6 separate regions of the Homo sapiens genome follow, and regions 1, 2, 3, 4 and 5 are each linked to region 6. Evidence: promoter capture Hi-C in 16 types of primary human blood cells and fetal thymus (Javierre and others, 2016). All regions are on one chromosome and are shown on one strand. Each heading gives the region's core, a stretch centred on a gene start or on the middle of the fragment in contact. The rest is flanking DNA. Distances are from core to core; before and after follow the strand shown.

Evidence for each region. The method cuts DNA at HindIII sites, captures the fragments that hold promoters and counts their contacts. A CHiCAGO score of 5 or more calls a contact.
Region 1: a fragment that was not itself captured here is called in contact with the fragment with the promoter of SPRY1 in region 6 in 8 of 17 cell types (M2 macrophages, megakaryocytes, naive B cells and 5 more); the score reaches 9.0 in M2 macrophages.
Region 2: a contact is called between a fragment that was not itself captured here and the fragment with the promoter of SPRY1 in region 6, in 4 of 17 cell types (naive B cells, M0 macrophages, M2 macrophages and 1 more). The highest score is 6.9, in naive B cells.
Region 3: a fragment that was not itself captured here is called in contact with the fragment with the promoter of SPRY1 in region 6 in 6 of 17 cell types (naive B cells, M0 macrophages, total B cells and 3 more); the score reaches 9.7 in naive B cells.
Region 4: a contact is called between a fragment that was not itself captured here and the fragment with the promoter of SPRY1 in region 6, in 6 of 17 cell types (M0 macrophages, total B cells, naive B cells and 3 more). The highest score is 7.9, in M0 macrophages.
Region 5: a fragment that was not itself captured here is called in contact with the fragment with the promoter of SPRY1 in region 6 in 8 of 17 cell types (megakaryocytes, total B cells, naive B cells and 5 more); the score reaches 9.1 in megakaryocytes.

The regions. Positions count from the first base shown.
Region 1 is chr4:123,627,056-123,629,848 of GRCh38, forward strand. No RefSeq gene overlaps it. Among named protein-coding and RNA genes, the nearest start is that of LINC01091, 22 kb to the right of the region's middle. The HindIII fragment of the contact is 3,329 bases long and covers 1-2,793 here.
Region 2 is chr4:123,533,553-123,536,252 of GRCh38, forward strand. It overlaps LOC105377405 (a long non-coding RNA gene), which reads right to left. Exons shown (of 4, transcript XR_939171.3): 4 at 1-306. Among named protein-coding and RNA genes, the nearest start is that of LINC02435, 13 kb to the left of the region's middle. The HindIII fragment of the contact is 3,042 bases long and covers 1-2,700 here.
Region 3 is chr4:123,576,168-123,578,867 of GRCh38, forward strand. No RefSeq gene overlaps it. Among named protein-coding and RNA genes, the nearest start is that of LINC02435, 56 kb to the left of the region's middle. The HindIII fragment of the contact is 1,977 bases long and covers 353-2,329 here.
Region 4 is chr4:123,550,531-123,553,230 of GRCh38, forward strand. No RefSeq gene overlaps it. Among named protein-coding and RNA genes, the nearest start is that of LINC02435, 30 kb to the left of the region's middle. The HindIII fragment of the contact is 532 bases long and covers 1,031-1,562 here.
Region 5 is chr4:123,600,003-123,602,702 of GRCh38, forward strand. No RefSeq gene overlaps it. Among named protein-coding and RNA genes, the nearest start is that of LINC01091, 49 kb to the right of the region's middle. RefSeq lists enhancers at 32-326, 294-939. The HindIII fragment of the contact is 1,818 bases long and covers 437-2,254 here.
Region 6 is chr4:123,395,541-123,398,240 of GRCh38, forward strand. SPRY1 (sprouty RTK signaling antagonist 1) reads left to right here and starts at 1,255. Exons shown (of 3, transcript NM_001258038.2): 1 at 1,255-1,392; 2 at 2,071-2,316. RefSeq lists a silencer at 2,690-2,700. The HindIII fragment of the contact is 9,971 bases long and covers 1-2,700 here.

The DNA.
Region 1 (2,793 bases), core at 77-2,576, 230 kb after region 6:
TGTAAACTGGCAGTCATCTTTTTATTGAAGGTTTGGAATCTGACGATTATAACAAGAGTTCAAATGATAACTTCTTTGTCCCTTCTCATAAAATGAAGATAGCAACGAGACTGGAATTGAGGACTAACTAAATCTAGTGGCTAGGAGTATTTAATGTTTTCTAAATGGATAGTAACTAAAAGAAATAGACTTATCCATAAAATATGTATACATGTTTATAAACCTACATATCTGGAATATGGCCACCAATTAGGAAGTATATGCCAACAGCCTTCCATCAAGGAAAATAGTGACTACACAGCCCATATAGTGAAGTTTGTGCATTTTACTTACTAAAAGTCTCTTAGTTCCTTACTATGCTTGCTTTTTAAAGATGTTATTTGCTTGGGTTTTTGCTTTTGGCTTATATTAAAGCGATTTCATAACAAGCACTATTTGGAATGTATCACATTAGCTATTGTCAGAATGCCATTGAAGACATTATTCTATCCTATATTACCCTTCTTTATGAATATGATGAAAAAATTCTCTTAGGTCTTAATGTTAAGAGTGGTAGTACTTTTTCTGAATAGCTGGTTTGTTTTTATTTTCTGAGCATTGTGAACCTGTAACTAATGGATTGCCTTTTTATCTTTGCTTTGGCTTCCAGGAAATCCAGAGCTGTTTGCTACCTAGCACTAGCAATTACAGAGAGGTACAGAGCATGCAGTCTGCGTGTGTTACCTACCTTGGCTTTATTATTTTTCTTATTCTTTAATATATTCTTATTTTCCTTTTGTTCAAATTCCTTCAAAAATTATTTTTTGTAATTGCATAATTTTAAAAAGCTGCCATACATCCTTTGTGGAAAGGGATAAGTGTATATGCATTTGTAAATTTATGCATAAGTACATTTATAGATTCATACTTATGGCATGAGTGGTTTTCCAAACTGTAGCAAATTAGAAGCCACAAATTAGGAGAGGGATGATTGCTAGACAAAGGGCATTAAGAACGTCAACAGATGTGACAACTGATGAACTCCATTGAGGACACCAGAAGACTATCATTAAAAAGATAAGTGTGGGAACTCAAAAAGCACAGCTACCTAAGACCATATATACAGGGCCAAAAAACTCTACATGTCTCTCTGATCCAAGAAGTAGCAAGGTGCTATGATTGCTGTCTTAAAATGACCTCAACAGTAAAATAAGATTCTACTATTCTCCACATACTCTAACAGGACAGTGTTCTGTTTATTATCAGTTAGAAATATGTCCCCTTCCCTATCCCCAAAATGGTTCTCTTTAAAAGACTGAACTTCAAGTATTCAAAAAACTAACTTAGCAGAAAGAAGACCCTTACTTGTTCTTTTAAAAGCACCACATGTAAAGCATCTGTTGCATGACTAGGTTAGAAATCATTAGTTTGCTTCCCTACAAACCAATATTGCATCACCTGAACTGATCTGTCTTCAAAGGTAACTGAAGCCCACTGAGTGTGAGACTATGAGAATGATTCATTATTCATGGAGGGGAGGTTTAGTTACCAAGGACTGAGTGGGAATTTGGCTCAGATGTAAGTGATAATATAATATAATAATATAGTAATAGCAATAATGGCGGCTAACATGCCTCTCTTTGGCTCAACTACTTTTTTTTGTCTCATTCTGTTGCATGGGCTGGAGTGCAGTGGCATGATTTCAGCTCACTGCAGTCTTGACCTCCTGGGCTCAAGCGATCCTCCCACCTCAGCCTCTTGAGTAGCTGGAACTACAGGCACACACCACCATGCCCAGCTAATTTTTTTGTATTTTTTGTGAAGACAGAGTTTCACCATGTTGCCCAGGCTGGTCTTGAACTCCTGGGCTCAAGCTGTTATCCTGCCTCAGCCTCCCATTGTGCTGGGATTACAGATATGGGACACTGCACCCAGCTACTTTTGTTTTAATGAGGTGATAGAAAGTCCATGGCTCCCTGGCCTGCATGAGGAGGGGTGCACATGGCAGTGAGAAACAGATATTTGATTCTCAACTTGTGAGTGAATGAAGTCATTGGAACTATTACCTGAGTGTGGCATAGTGCCTAAAAGCATGGACTCTGGAGCAGAAATTCTGGGTTTAAATCTTGGCTTCACTACTTGCTGGCTGTGTGATCTTAGACAAGTTACTTAACTTCTCTGTGTCTTAGTTTTGCCAGCTTTAATATAGAGACAGCAATATTTCATACCACAAAGGGCTGTGAGAGTTAGATGAGTTACCATAAATAAAGTGCTTAAAACAATGCCTGGCTATATTAAACATTATTTAAATGATGTTATTTTTATCATTAAATATTACCACTAAGGTCAGAAGGAAGAATTTGTTTTGAGTTCTAAGGTAATATAAACATCCCCTTTCTTTTCACATTGCATTATATTTATCTTTATATGACGTTAAATTTGCAAATATGTGAATATCCTTATCCTATTCTATTCATATGCCTCTGAAAAAGGGGCAGGGTTCTGGCGAAATAGATTTGGGTCTTGGCAATAAACGTTTGGGGGTCTATTAAGAATAATTCCATATATCAAACCACAGATCTCACTTTTTAAAAAGTTAAATTTAATTTAAATGTGGTTTTAATCTTATTCTAAAAGTAACCTAATCACATTACAAAAATTTGTCTGTTCTTTATCTAGTTCAATCCCATGAACAAAACCAAACCACCATTATGGAATAAATGATACTATGTGTTTGTATGTAATGGGTTTTTTTTTTTAATGGTATATGGGTGTGTATGGATAGGTGTATGTGTTTGTTACAGTGATTCTCAC
Region 2 (2,700 bases), core at 52-2,551, 140 kb after region 6:
AAGTTGCAGGATACAAAAATCAGTAGCATTGGTGGGGCACGGTGGCTCACGCCTGTAATCTCAGCACTTTGGGAGGCCGACGCGGGTGGATCACTTGAGGTTAGGAGTTTGAGACCAGCCTGACCAACAAGGTGAAACCCTGTCTCTACTAAAAATACAAAAATCAGCCAGGCGTGGTGGCAGGCACCTGTAGTCCCAGCTACTTGGGAGGCTGAGACAGAATTGTTTGAACCTGGGAGGAGGAGGTTGCAGTGAGCCGAGATTGTGCCAGTGCACTCCAGCCTTGGTGATGCAGCAAGACTCCACCTGAAAAAAAAAATCAGTAGCATTTTTATACACAAATAATGACCTAACCAAAAAAGTAATTAAGAAAACAATCATATTTATAATAGCAAAAAATTAAACATCTAAGAATATATTTAACCAAGGGAGTGAAAGACTTGTATACTGAAAACTATAAAACCATGATGAAAGAGATGGAAGAAGACACAAATAAATGGAAAATTATCCTGTGTTCATGGGTGGGAAAAATTAATCTGTTAAAATGTCCTTATTACCTATAGCAATATACAGATTTAACACAATTCCCATCAAAAGTCTAATGGCATTTTTCACAGAAATAGAAAAAAATACTAAAATTCACATGGAATCACAAAAAACTCTGACTAGTAAAAGAAATGCTGAGAAAGAAAAATAAAGTTGAAGGCATCACAGTTTCTGAATCAAAATTATATTAGAAAGCTATAGTAATCAAAACAGTATGGTACTGGCATAAAAACAGAAATATAGACCAATGGAACAGAATAGAGAGCACAGAAATAAACCTAAGCACATGTGATCAACTGACTTTTGACAAGAGCACAGAAAGGACATAATGGGGAAAGAATAATTTCTTCAATAAACAGTGCTGGTAAAACTGGATTTTTTACATCAAAAGTGTGAAATTGGACCCTTATCTTACACCATACATGAAAATAAATTCAAACTGAATAAAAGACCTAAATTTAAGACCTGAAACCATTAAACTCCTGAAAGAAAACACAGGGGAAAAACTCCTGAACATTGGTATTGGCAATGAATTTTTGGATATCACACCAAAAGCTCAGGCAACAATAACAAAAATAAATAAATGGTACTACATCAAACCAAAAATCTTTTGCACAGCAAAGGAAACAATTGATAAAATGAAAAGGCAATCTATGGACTAGGAAAACAATTGCAAACCACATATCTGATAAGGGGTTAATATCAGAAATTTGTAAAGCACTCTTATAACTCAATAGCAGAAAAACAACCCAATTAAAACATAAGCAAAGGACCTGAACAGACATTTCTCTAAAGAGACATAAAAATGGCCAAGAGGAATATGAAAACATGTTCAATATTACTAATCATCAGGGAAATGCAAATTAAAACTGCTATGTGATATCAACCTCACACCTGTAAGGATGGTTATTATAAAAAAGACAAGACATAACAAATGTTGGCAAGGAGGTAGAGAAATGGGAACCCTAGTACACTATTAGTGGGAATGTAGACTGGTACAGCCCTTATGCAAAACAGTGTGGAAGTTCCTAAAGATATTAAAAATAGAATTATTATATGGCCCAGCAATCCCTCTTCTGGGTATACACCCAAAGAAGATGAAGTCACTACCTTGTAAAGATATCTGCTCTCTCACATTCATTGCAGCATTATTCACAATAGCTAAGATATGGAAACAACCTAAATGTTCATCAGTGGATAAACAGATAATGAAAACATGGTATATATATATATATGAATATTATTCAACCTTAAAAAGGAGATTCTGCCATTTACCACAATATGACCTGGAGGACATTATGCTAAGTGAAAGAAACCAGACACAGAAAGAAAAATATTATATAATCTCACCTTTATGTAGAATATATACATATTTAAAAAGAGCTCAAATACACAGATACAGAGAACAAAACAGTGGTTACCATGGGTGGGATGGGGGTGGGGATGTGGAGCAGGGTGGGAGGGAAAGGAAATGGGGGCAATGTAGGTCAAGCGATCAAAATAGCAGCACAAAGCAGTTTAGAGAGCCAATGTACAACATGAGTAATAAAGTTAGTAAAATTATACTGTATTGGAGATTTTTATTAAATAAGTAGATTTTAGCTGTTCTTGTCACAAAAAAGTAACTATGTGAGATGATAGATATGTTAGTCTGCTTCACTATAGTAACCATTTTACTACTATATGTATCCCATAACACTATGTTGTAAACCTCAAATATACATAATCAAATGCATTTAAAAAATAAAATAAAAGTGAGATCAAATTGGTTTCTCCAGACAGCTGTTGTATTTTTAAAAAAATTAATTCAGAGAATTATAGCAACATACTAGAGTGGTAGAACAGTATAAAAACTGAAGAATTATAGCTCCCTAACTGTTCTATTCCAAATCTTCTTTACAATTGATAATACTCTAGCCACTAAGTATTTTGTGCTTTTCCCTTTATTTACTTAATAAATTTGTTTCAATTTCACCAACTTCTATTTCCTGAATGAAGAACTTCCTGCATTAAGAAGTTCATTATCTGAATTACAACTTGTTATAATCATTCCACATATAAGGCAGAAAAACTGTCAATTACCCTGGAGTCTAAGCAAGACTCCTTTAATCTGTTCTCCTGATAGAATCAGGTTTTCGTGTTGATTAAATGTAT
Region 3 (2,700 bases), core at 91-2,590, 180 kb after region 6:
TTTCTCCGACACAAAACTTCCCAAGGCAATTACAGGATTGACATGGGACGTATAGACATAGGGTTGGGAAGGAACCTGTAGACATCTTTCAGGAAAACATCGAAACCCCTAAAGAGAGAAAGAGTCCTGCTTAAAGACATCTGAATATACCAGAAAACCTTGGAATTGTTTGTTTATTAGCTTGATACATATGAAATTGCTATTTTCATATGTTAAAAAATGGTTAACTATTGGCTATTAGCCATATGAAATGTGGAGGTTGAATCATATGAAATAGCCCATAGTTAACCATTTGAAGATATGTTATAATTTAAAATACATTTAGCAGCTGTCCTTGTCATTAATGGATCCAAGCTTCCTTGAGTGTGAAATTAAGAGTGAATACAGTTAAGTAACATTGTTATAAGGGGATGAGAAAATGCACTCTATTGGACAAGAAAATTAGAGTATCCTGATTTAGATCACAATCCAAAGTCTCCTAGCATTTACTCCCTCACCGAGAGTGTTTTAAGTCATACACACTCCTCAGGTTTCTTAGGATGTTTGTTAGAAGGTGATTTTTGTCCCTTTGTGCATGAATGTGGCCCTGCAAACAGAAAGAGCATTAGATTCCACAGGGTACCTTGACAATGCCAAGGGAAGCAAGGAAGTTGAGGCTGGCCTTCTGTCTGGTGGTGGTGCTTAGACTTCTGTGCTTTGCAGCAGCAAAGCTGCAGTTTTGAGTCTGTGCTGTGCTTTGGTGAAGGTCATCATTGGGCAGATACGGATATTTGGTTTTATTATTTCCTCCAGAGATAATGGGACAGGGGCATATGAATCTTAAATATTTTTTAAGAGACTAAATGTTACTTTAAGAAAAGCCAATGTATGAATTTACTATGCAAAATCTACCTCTTTATGAATGCAATGTTTGGGTTAGCTGGCTAGGGCATTTCTATTTGAGGAACTGACTTAGAATAGAACTATAGTAAATATGATTTGAGTAAGTTTCAATAGATGGTCTTAAAAGTATATTTTCTTTTATTTGTGCTATTCTCTGGAATCATTTTTCTCCACTAAAAAGAAATACTTTCCAAACAGGCAATCTGTTTTAATTAGCCCCAAGGGAGGTATAAGAGGGTTCCTTTCATTGACAGTGTCAGCAAAACACGACTACATTTCTTTTCTCTTTTTTCTCTCTCTCTTATATTTAAGGTTCATCCTCTCTCTTCTATACTTAAGGTTCATCTGCTTACATCATTATAGCACCAAATGATTTCATTTCAACGTGCTTTATATGTTACGCTTCTCTAAAAATGCAGATGTAGCAAGCAGTAAATTCCCTGAAGGCAAGAGCGGTGTCTCAGGCAGTCACAGTGTACTGGAAGAGGTATGGGCTTTGGGGTAGAGAGTCCTGGGTTCAAATTGTGGCTTAATTTGACCATAATCTGTGTGCATGTGTGTGATCTGGGAGAATTGCTTAATTACTCTGACCCTGTTTCTTAATCTGTAAACAGATGAATAACTAACTCAAGGTTTCCTGGGGATTGAGTAATTACGGTAGAAGTGAAAGCATTTTTGGCTGAATACCTGGTACCAGGTGCTCAACACAGGTTGACTTCTTTGCCTTGTCTTGTCTGATCTTCTTTGTAAGGCACTATACACAGTAAGCACTGGGTAGATTGTCTCATTTTAGGTGGCCTGTTTCTTGATAATATAGACAAAACTCTTCTAATTAGTGAAAGCATTTTTGGCTGAATACCTGGTACCAAGTGCTCAACACAGGTCGACTTCTTTGCCTTGTCTTGTCTGATCTTCTTTGTAAGGCACTATACACAGTAAGCACTGGGTAGATTGTCTCGTTTTAGGTGGCCTTTTTCTTGATAATATAGACAAAACTCTTCACGTTGGTGGCAAATTATTTCCAAATCACACTGCATAACGGATTGCTATTGGAAAATTGTCTTGTAAACTAGCACCTTTAAATCTTTTGCCTGTAGCAGCTACAATGAGAGTGAGAGAGACAGAGAAACACAGAGAGAGAGAAAAAAAGAAAAACTCATTTATGAGGAGGGCAGTGGTTGTTATATTGTCATTATTGGGAAGTTTTATGGACATAAAAATCACAGTAGTTCTTGCTGGGACTCTCTTTGCCTCCTCAGCAGTTGAGTGGCTCAGCAGTTGATGGTTAATTCCAACCATCTTCTGTGGATTTTGGTTAGTTAACCTCAGAGGATAGCCCTTTGCATGTAGCCTCTGTTTGAGGGTTTCTTTTGTGAGCTTGTAGTACTTCATGTATTGAGTCAACCACTCAGTGCTAGCATACTTTTAAATGATTGGAGCCAATGAAAGCTTTGGAAAATAAATCTGTCTTGGGCAATATATGGCAACTTCTCTTTGAGTAATAGATGGTTTAAAATCTAACTTTACTTTTTCTTGCTTATGGATTCTTTGCTCACATTTTATAAAGCCAAGAAATTTTAAATTTTTTAAAGCCCTTGTGAAGATAAAAGATACAAGATAATATGTGCTTGCAATTGCTTTACCAAGGTTTCAAAAGAAATAAAAACAAAATGAAACAATTAAGAAGTCTCTGTCAAAGGTCTGGAAAATACGACTTTTGGATAGATTTTTCAGGAGACCTGTTTTGCATTAAAATACCAACTAAAACAAAATGATGGATTGTTTTGGCACCATTTAGATTGAGCTTATGTGATGAGA
Region 4 (2,700 bases), core at 47-2,546, 160 kb after region 6:
TGATCCACCCGCCTCGGCCTCCCAAAGTGCCGGGATTATGAGCCACCACGCCTGGCCAATATAGACTTTATTATGAGCAGCAGTGTGACTCAGTTGAAAGTAAGAGTTCTGTTCTGGGGTCTCCCATACAGGTGAGAAATGACTGGAACTCAGCTTTGGATTCATTTCTTCAGTGGCAGTAGATGGAAAACTATGGTCTACCTGGAGGGAATGAGGGCCTGAAATGGAGTGACCATGGGAACATGGGTAGGTTACAGAAGGGAAAGCCAATGCAGAGGAGGGCCGACAGGATTCTCCAGGTGTGATGGGATTTGCCAGCTGGCGTGAGGGAGTGGGAGGATACAAAAATCACATCTAGCTTGGGAACCATGTGAAGAGGATGCTGGTGATGCCATTGACTAAAGTAAGGACGTTGGAGTTTTAGGGAAGAAGGTAATGAATTAGGTTTTGGACATGTTGAGTTTGTCCAACAAACTGCAGTTTATTTGCACCAGGACTGGAGCTTGGGGAAATTTGTATTGTACATTTCTAAGTAAATATAAAGTTGACCTTTTTTTAATCTTAATGTCTCAGATGCTTTATTGGGCTTCATAAGTTGTTACTTAGGGGACTCTGTTAATCATAATGGAGTAAGGCAATAGGTTTACCTTTTCTCTTCTCTGCTGGACCCAAACTCCAGAGAACTTCTTTCCCACCATTGGGCTTAAGGATCCTGAGAGTCATGACAAAGATGATGTTCCAGGAAAATGCCTATTTCTTAAAAGGACTTTTGCCCAGAATACCTATGTGTTCTTCCACCCCAATGAGCTCAAATGTGAACAAAGCAGAAAGCTCTTCAATTGTAGTCCAGAGGCATTTCTTAGTAGCATCCCTTATTTCCTTTTTGCTCTGAGCCTCAACCTGGCTCCACTTGATCTTTCCTGTCTCGGACCCATTGTTTGAGTGCAACAGACTAAGTGAGGGCTGCCCCATGTATTAAAGAGGGATGTAAGTAGAGAGTCATAGTCAGCATCCCTAGGTCCAGGAGAAAAGCTTATAATGGAAATATGGAAGTGAGGGTGAAATTGGATGGGGCTTGGGGACACATAGCAAGGTTAATAGTAATGGTGGTCAAGAGACTAAGAATTAAGGCAAGGGCTCTTGAGCTCTGGCAGCAGACTTTAAGTCCATGAACATGGGGCATTATGGAGAAATCTTCTAGTGTATCTTGCCTAGGTAAAAGCAGCTCCTTAAGTGAGAAAATCTGGGTCAGATAATGCCAAGGAAAGGCCTCAAAAAAGACATGTTCAGCAAGAGAAGAGAGAGTAGTCTCTGCCCAGTCTGTGTGTAATGTATAGTGTTAGTTACTAGTATGCCTAGATAATAACACTATAGATCCTAGATACTAACACTATAGATCCAATGTAGGTTGGAATAGCCTTTTCCTTCAGATTTTTGAAGGCATTCAAATTTTGCTTGCCTGATGTTGTTCACTTGCCTGATGGCTCCAGGTATTGCTGCTGAGGGGTGGGATAGCAATCTGACTACTTGTCCTTTATTTGTGGCCTTTTTTCTCTTTCAGAAGCTTCAGGACCATCTCAATTTGACATGGAAGTGCTTTGCTGTAAATCTTTTATTATTCATTATACTTTCCACCTAATGGACCCTCACTCATATTTCTTAGGTATGGGGAACTTTCTTTTTTTTTTTTTTTTTTTTTGAGACAGAGTCTTGCTCTGTCACCCAGGCTGGAGTGCAATGGTGTGATCTCGGCTCACTGCAACTTCTGCCTCCTGGGTTCAAGCAATTCTGCCTCAGCCTCCCAAGTAGCTGGGATTATAGGCGTGTGCCACCATATCCAGCAAATTTTTGTATTTTTCGTAGAGACAGGGTTTTACCATGTTGGCCAGGCTGGTCTCGAACTTCTGACCTCAGGTGATCCGCCTGCCTCGGCCTCCCAGAGTGCTGGGATTACAGGCATGAGCCAGTGTGCCTGGCCTGATGGGGAATTTTCTCACATTATTTCTTTGATAATTTCTTCCATGATATCGTCTTTTCTCTCTTTCTGGGAATCCTGTTAGTCACATGCTGCATCTCCTAGACATTTTTTTTCTCCAAATTTTCATCCCTTTTCCTTTTATTCTGAGGATCTTAGTATTGCCTTCTCTATAAGGTTTTAAGTTGCCTTATAAATGCAGTTTTTCCCCCTATTGTTATCAGAAGGATGGCTATGGTCCCCCACGAGTGGAGATGGGAATTGGAAAGTTTGACTTGGAAGCATTCTGAATTTTCCCCTCACTTGTAGCTAGTCATCACCCACATGGTTCTAGTTTTCCATGTGATTTGACACAACTGAAGTTCAGTGGCTCCTTGGATTGCTGAAATGAAATGGAGGCCTTCTTTGCAACCTGAGCTCTTCTAGCTTTCTGTTTCTCTGTGTCTTAGAACAGAAGTTCATGTTTTGGGTCAGTAATGTAAGTAAGAAATTGAAGAAGTAGATGATTACAAATGAATAACCTGTTGTTAGTAGTGTACATAGGGTGGTTTTAGATCTATGTAGATCATGATGATTTGGTTGTGTGGCTTCGGCAGCCAACCACCTAAATTACTTGAATGAAGCTTCTTTCCTGAAAGGAGCTTGGATTCATCTGAATTTCAGAGTACTTTCATTTGAATATCCTGTCAGCATAATTCAAATTTTAAAATGCTTGCTTGGGTATT
Region 5 (2,700 bases), core at 96-2,595, 200 kb after region 6:
CAGGACACTTCCTCTTCCTCTCCTCTTTCTGTGGCTCTCTCTTCTGTTCTCAGGGCAGCCACCATTAGCATGTGTCTACTGAAGGAACAAGTGTGGTGGGGAACAGGGTGTTGGGTCTCTGGGAAACTTATTTGCATACTTCTTGTTACAAAAGCCAACCACATCCTGGTTAAGACAATGTGCTGTCTGATAAACAGACTGCATCCCCCAGTGTCTGCCTGGAGCTCAGCCAGCGTGTGGCCCGCCTTTGTCACAAGGTGCTGTTTATTCTGCCTGGAAGTCCAAGGACAGAACAAACCAGCTAAATGAACCTTTTATTTCTCCCATTCTCTGACAGAAATTCCTTGAGTCAAAAACATGTATTAATATTAGGTTAAGGGAAAAGCATCAGAATTCTCCAAATATGCCTTCCTAATCCTGTGGAAAACATATAAAAAGCTTTGGTTTTCCTCTCTAGCTACAAATTCTTTGGGGTTTGAGAAAACTAGGAAACTTGGAAAATATAGTGCAAGGGCGATATAAAAATCGTGGTTTACCAAGACTTTTTGTTGATAAATATTTCTTTCCACATCTGTTTTCTATGTGTTTCCTTTCTCTTTTCCTCCCTCCCACCCCAGAAAACACAGACAAAAGGAAGTGGAGGCTTAAACAATTAACTGGTGACTGCAGGACCCATTGTTTAGGAATCTGGATAATTGAGTCCTAATTTCTCTGACTCCCTTCACTTTGGTAAATTATAGAAAGAAAAAGATTTTGAGACTCAGTCTCATTTTTGGCAGTTAAGGTAAGAAATCCATCTATGCTTCCGTTTTACTGTTTTTTTTTTCTTTTTCTCTCCTCTCAAAACAATTCAACATTTCCTTCTCTGCTTATTTCAAATCTAAATGTGGTACATATTTTAAGACATATTTTAACCACAAATTTTATTGGTGACTGCAATCACTGAAAGGAAGGTACTCTGTGAACACAGAAATTGTTTTAATGTTTTTAATCAATAATTCCTATAAACAAATTTTGTCTTGAGGAAATAGAATATGCAGCTATTTCCTTTCTGCATTTACAGTGACCTCTGAAATATATTACAACCACTCATCTGTATCTAATCCCACATGTGTGGTGAACACTTTAAGTAACTTATTGACTAGAATCCTTCTGGAGGTATCTGTGGAGGATGATGATAGAGATGATGTTACAGAACAGTTTGAAAAAGACGCCAATTGGCATTTTGAAGGATTACCAACATTTCTAATAAAGTCTCTGAAGAGATTTCTGGCTGCTTAAGAACAATAATATGATAGAGATTGATTATTTTGAGGTTTCGAAGTTAAATACTTGCATGTGGTGAATACTGAGGCTTATTGTGAAAATGAAAATTAGACCTATGTAGAAATCCTTGTGGAGAATGAGACGGTCAGGACTTTTATCAATGCTGCTCTTTATACAACTGCCTCTTTGGAGAAGAAGTCGGTTCACTGTCCTTGTTAAATTTCAACTGCGGCTGATTCTGAATCTTGAGGACCATTATGATGTGAAAAAAGAAAAAAACACTCACTAAAAGTTAATGATCTTTCCCTAATCTTTCAGAAAAGCTGATACTGACTGGTAGATAGTAGTGCTCTGTCAGAATTGTAGAATGAATGAATCAAGCTGATATAATTCACTAACCATCTACCCAAGCCAGGATCTGTGTTAGAGCTTTAGAGACACACCTTGTTTTATTGTGCTTCACAGGTGCTGCGTTTTCTGCAAACTGAAGGTTTGTGGCAACCTTGCATTGAGCAAGTCTATCAGCCCTATTCTTCCCAACAGCATGTGCCCACTTAGTGTCTCTGTGTCACACTGTGGTAATTTTCACAATATTTCAAACTTTTTCATTATTATTATATATATTTTTAAATTTTACTTTAAATTCTGGGATACATGTGCTGAACGTGCAGATTTGTTACATAGGTATACATGTGCCATGGTGGTTTGCTGCAATTATTATTATATCTGTTATAGTGATCTGTAATCATGATCTTTGATGTCACTATTGTAATTTTGGTGGGGGCACCATGAACTGCCCCCATACAAGATGGTGTGTTCTGACTGCTCCACATACCAATGGTTTTCTCGTCTCTCTGGGGCCTCCCTATTCCGTCAGACACACGATATTGAAATGGGGCCAACGAATAACCCTTCAATGGCTTCTAAGTGTTCAAGTGAAAGGAAGAGTTGCAAGTCTCTCACTTTGAATCAAATTTAGAAATGAATAAGCTTAGTGAGGAAGGCATGTTAAAGTCAAGATAGGCCAAAAGGTAGGCCTCTTGTGCCAAACAGCCAAGTTGTGAGTGCAAAGGAAAAGTTCTTGAAGAAATTAAAAGTACTATTCCAATGAACACATTAATGATAAGATAGCACAACAGAGGCCGGGCATGGTGGCTCACTCTTCTAATCCCAGCACTTTGGGAGGCCAAGGCAGGAGGATCACTTGAGCCTGGGAGTTTGAGACCAGCCTGGGCAACATAGTGAGACCCTGTCTCTATTTAAAAAGAAAAGAAAGGAAAAGAAAGTGCAACAGCCTTATGTTGATATGGAGAAAGTTTAAGTGGTCTGGATAAAAGATCAAACCAGCCACAGCATTCCCACAAGCCAAAGCCCCAGAGCAAGATTCTAACTCGCTTCCATTTTATGAAGGTCTGAGAGAGGTGAGGAAGCTGT
Region 6 (2,700 bases), core at 5-2,504:
TATTGTTATTCATGTTCTTAACAATGCTCTGTGTTCTTCAGAGGCAATTCCAAACACAACTTTAATTTTTGAAAGTGCTCAGACATTTGAAAGTCCTGTGTGTGTGCGTGTGTGTTATGTATGTATATATTTATAGTTTCAACAGAACCACTTGCTATTGTAAATGAGACTAAAAATGTACTTTGAACTAAAAATTTCCATACTTATATGTTTATATGATTTAGATTCTAGAGTTTTGTTATTGTTTGCTTTGTTTTGCCAGACTTTAAGCTACTCCTGATATATAGTACCTGGAAAAATATTTCCTTTCCACTAAGTTTTTGGTCTTTAGGTGGCTTTTAAAAGTTTCTACGGAACCTTCAATTCCACAAAAAGTTATCCTCACTGCAGCATGAAAAGGCACAACTTTGATAATAAATGCCTAAAATCCCATAGTTTGTAAGAAAGTAGAAATCAAGTTTCCTACTTAAAGTGTTTTTTTTCCAGTCATATCAGCTATTACTAAGAATTATAAAACTTCTTGATAAATTTTTTCTATTCTAATTAATTGACTTTTAGCTAATTAAAAAATATACGGGTTTGTATTTTTTGCAAAATTATACAACTATATTACAAAATTGAAAGAATTTGGTTTTTTCTCCATGTGCTTGATTTTTGGGAAATCATATAACAAGCCAAGGTAAAGCAATTATTTAAAAAACCCACAGCAGAAAATTTCACCTTTATTACATATGCTTATATTACATTTGCAGTAAGGAGTGCCACCTTTTGAACTTTAGGTTTCACATATTCTGAACTTTGTTGTAAATAGGAACTGTAATGTTATATAATCATCTTTTTGTGTCAATATACGTTTTCCCTCTAGTTGGTCAGAAGTGATGGCTTGGCATACAACTTTTTTCATTTTCTTTTATTCTTCACAATTCTTTTCTAATTCAACTTAAGAGTAGAGTCCACCAATCCTTTTAATTGAGATCGACAACTGAAGATTGCTAACTAAATCCGAATGTATTCCTCTATGACAAACTGCATTTGCAGAATTTTTAGAGGCACTCCCGAAGTTTTAAGAGGATGTTTATTACACGAGTCTGTAGGGCAACATTTCCAAGTTGGTACACATAAACGAAAGAGGAAACGATAGTTAAGGAAATCCTGTTCCAGGTTTTCGGGCAGCCCGAGTGATTGACACATGATATCACCGGAGGCGTGTCCTGGAGTGGAGGTGGAGGTGGAGGCAAGGAGCTGAAATTCTGCGTAGCCGGAGTGAGACCGCTCTGCAAACCACTGCGTGCTTTGCAGAGTGATTATCAGCACAGTTCCCTGCCCTGGATAAGGAACAGCTACAGTCGCTGTTAAATGTGCCTGAAAAGCAATTTGCAATCTTTGCATTAGGTAAGTACCGTTTCCTTCCGTAGACATTTTAGGAAAGATAAGGTGAGAAATGTTGACTTTTGCAAGGAACTGAACATTTATTTATTTGAACTTGCTTTCCAGCTAAGGTTACTGGTTGCATTTCAAAACACCGGTAGCATTCCCACTGCTAAAACTAATGCTCTTAAAGTAAATGCTACCGCTAAAAGAAAAAGCAGGGTCCCTTTCACCTTTCCTTAACCGAACAGTAGACGTTTAAAGTCTGAAACGATCGAATTTGTGAAACACAGAGCCGTTAATGCCTTTATGCGAAGAGGGGCTAGCACTCGGTGTGTGGACCAAATGCGTGTTTGTTTAGGCATTGTTGGCGACCGAATCCCGAGTGAAGCATTGGTTTAAAACCTGAATTTCCCGTCTCTGTGTATTGATTCCTAACGCGCAGAGGCGTTGCTTGAACGTTGTTTGAACTCCTAGGCATTCCAGGGGGCAAAAGCACCTCGGCAAAAACGTGCAGGACTGCATGTTACTTTGGTTCGCGGCTGACACGCCGACTGTGCGCCGGCCTGTCAATCACCGGGAGCAGCAACAGGGAGCACATGGCAACGGGCTGCGGGCGAGCTGGCCAGCGGCCCGCCCGGGGTCCCAGCCCTTCGAAGAAAGGGACATTCACGAGCTTCTATCTCTAATTCTCTGTCGCAGGCATTTCGGCCGTGGAACCCCAGGCTCGGAGGACTGGGTGTGAGCGCTGCCCGGGAGAGGCTGACCTGCCGGGACCGGAGTGCCCGGGGACGCTGTGCCCCCACTTGCCCAACGTGCGGAATCGGCTAAGCGCGTCGGCCTGCGCGGGGCACAAGGGACGACGCCCGCCTTTCTCTCTCCGAGAAGGATCCCCAAACCTCACTCTCTTCACTCCTCCCCGCTAAAAAAAAAAAAAAAAAGAAAAGGGTAAAAAAATCCCCCTCCCCCTCCCGGCCGCGGCAGCCTCTGCCTGGCAGGCGCGTGCTCCGAGGTTTCGCCGGGGTACTGCGCGGCTCCGTGACCCACCCGCCGACGGCGGTTCGGGCCCCGACCCGGGCGCTGCGGAGTCTCGAACGCCCGTGACGTGGATTTTTCGCTCGTCAGGAAGCCGCCATCCCTTCCTTCGTTCCTTGCGAGGAGCGACTAGAACCCGAGTTCTCTGAGCACACCGTGCCGTCAGCTGGCCCGTCACGCACTCGACTCCGCCACTCCCCTACTTGTTTTTCTGAGACTTGGGAAGCCTTCCTGAAAGGATTTGTAAAAACTGGTTCTTGGAAAGGGGCTGCAGAAGACCTCCCGAGGTGGATGTTA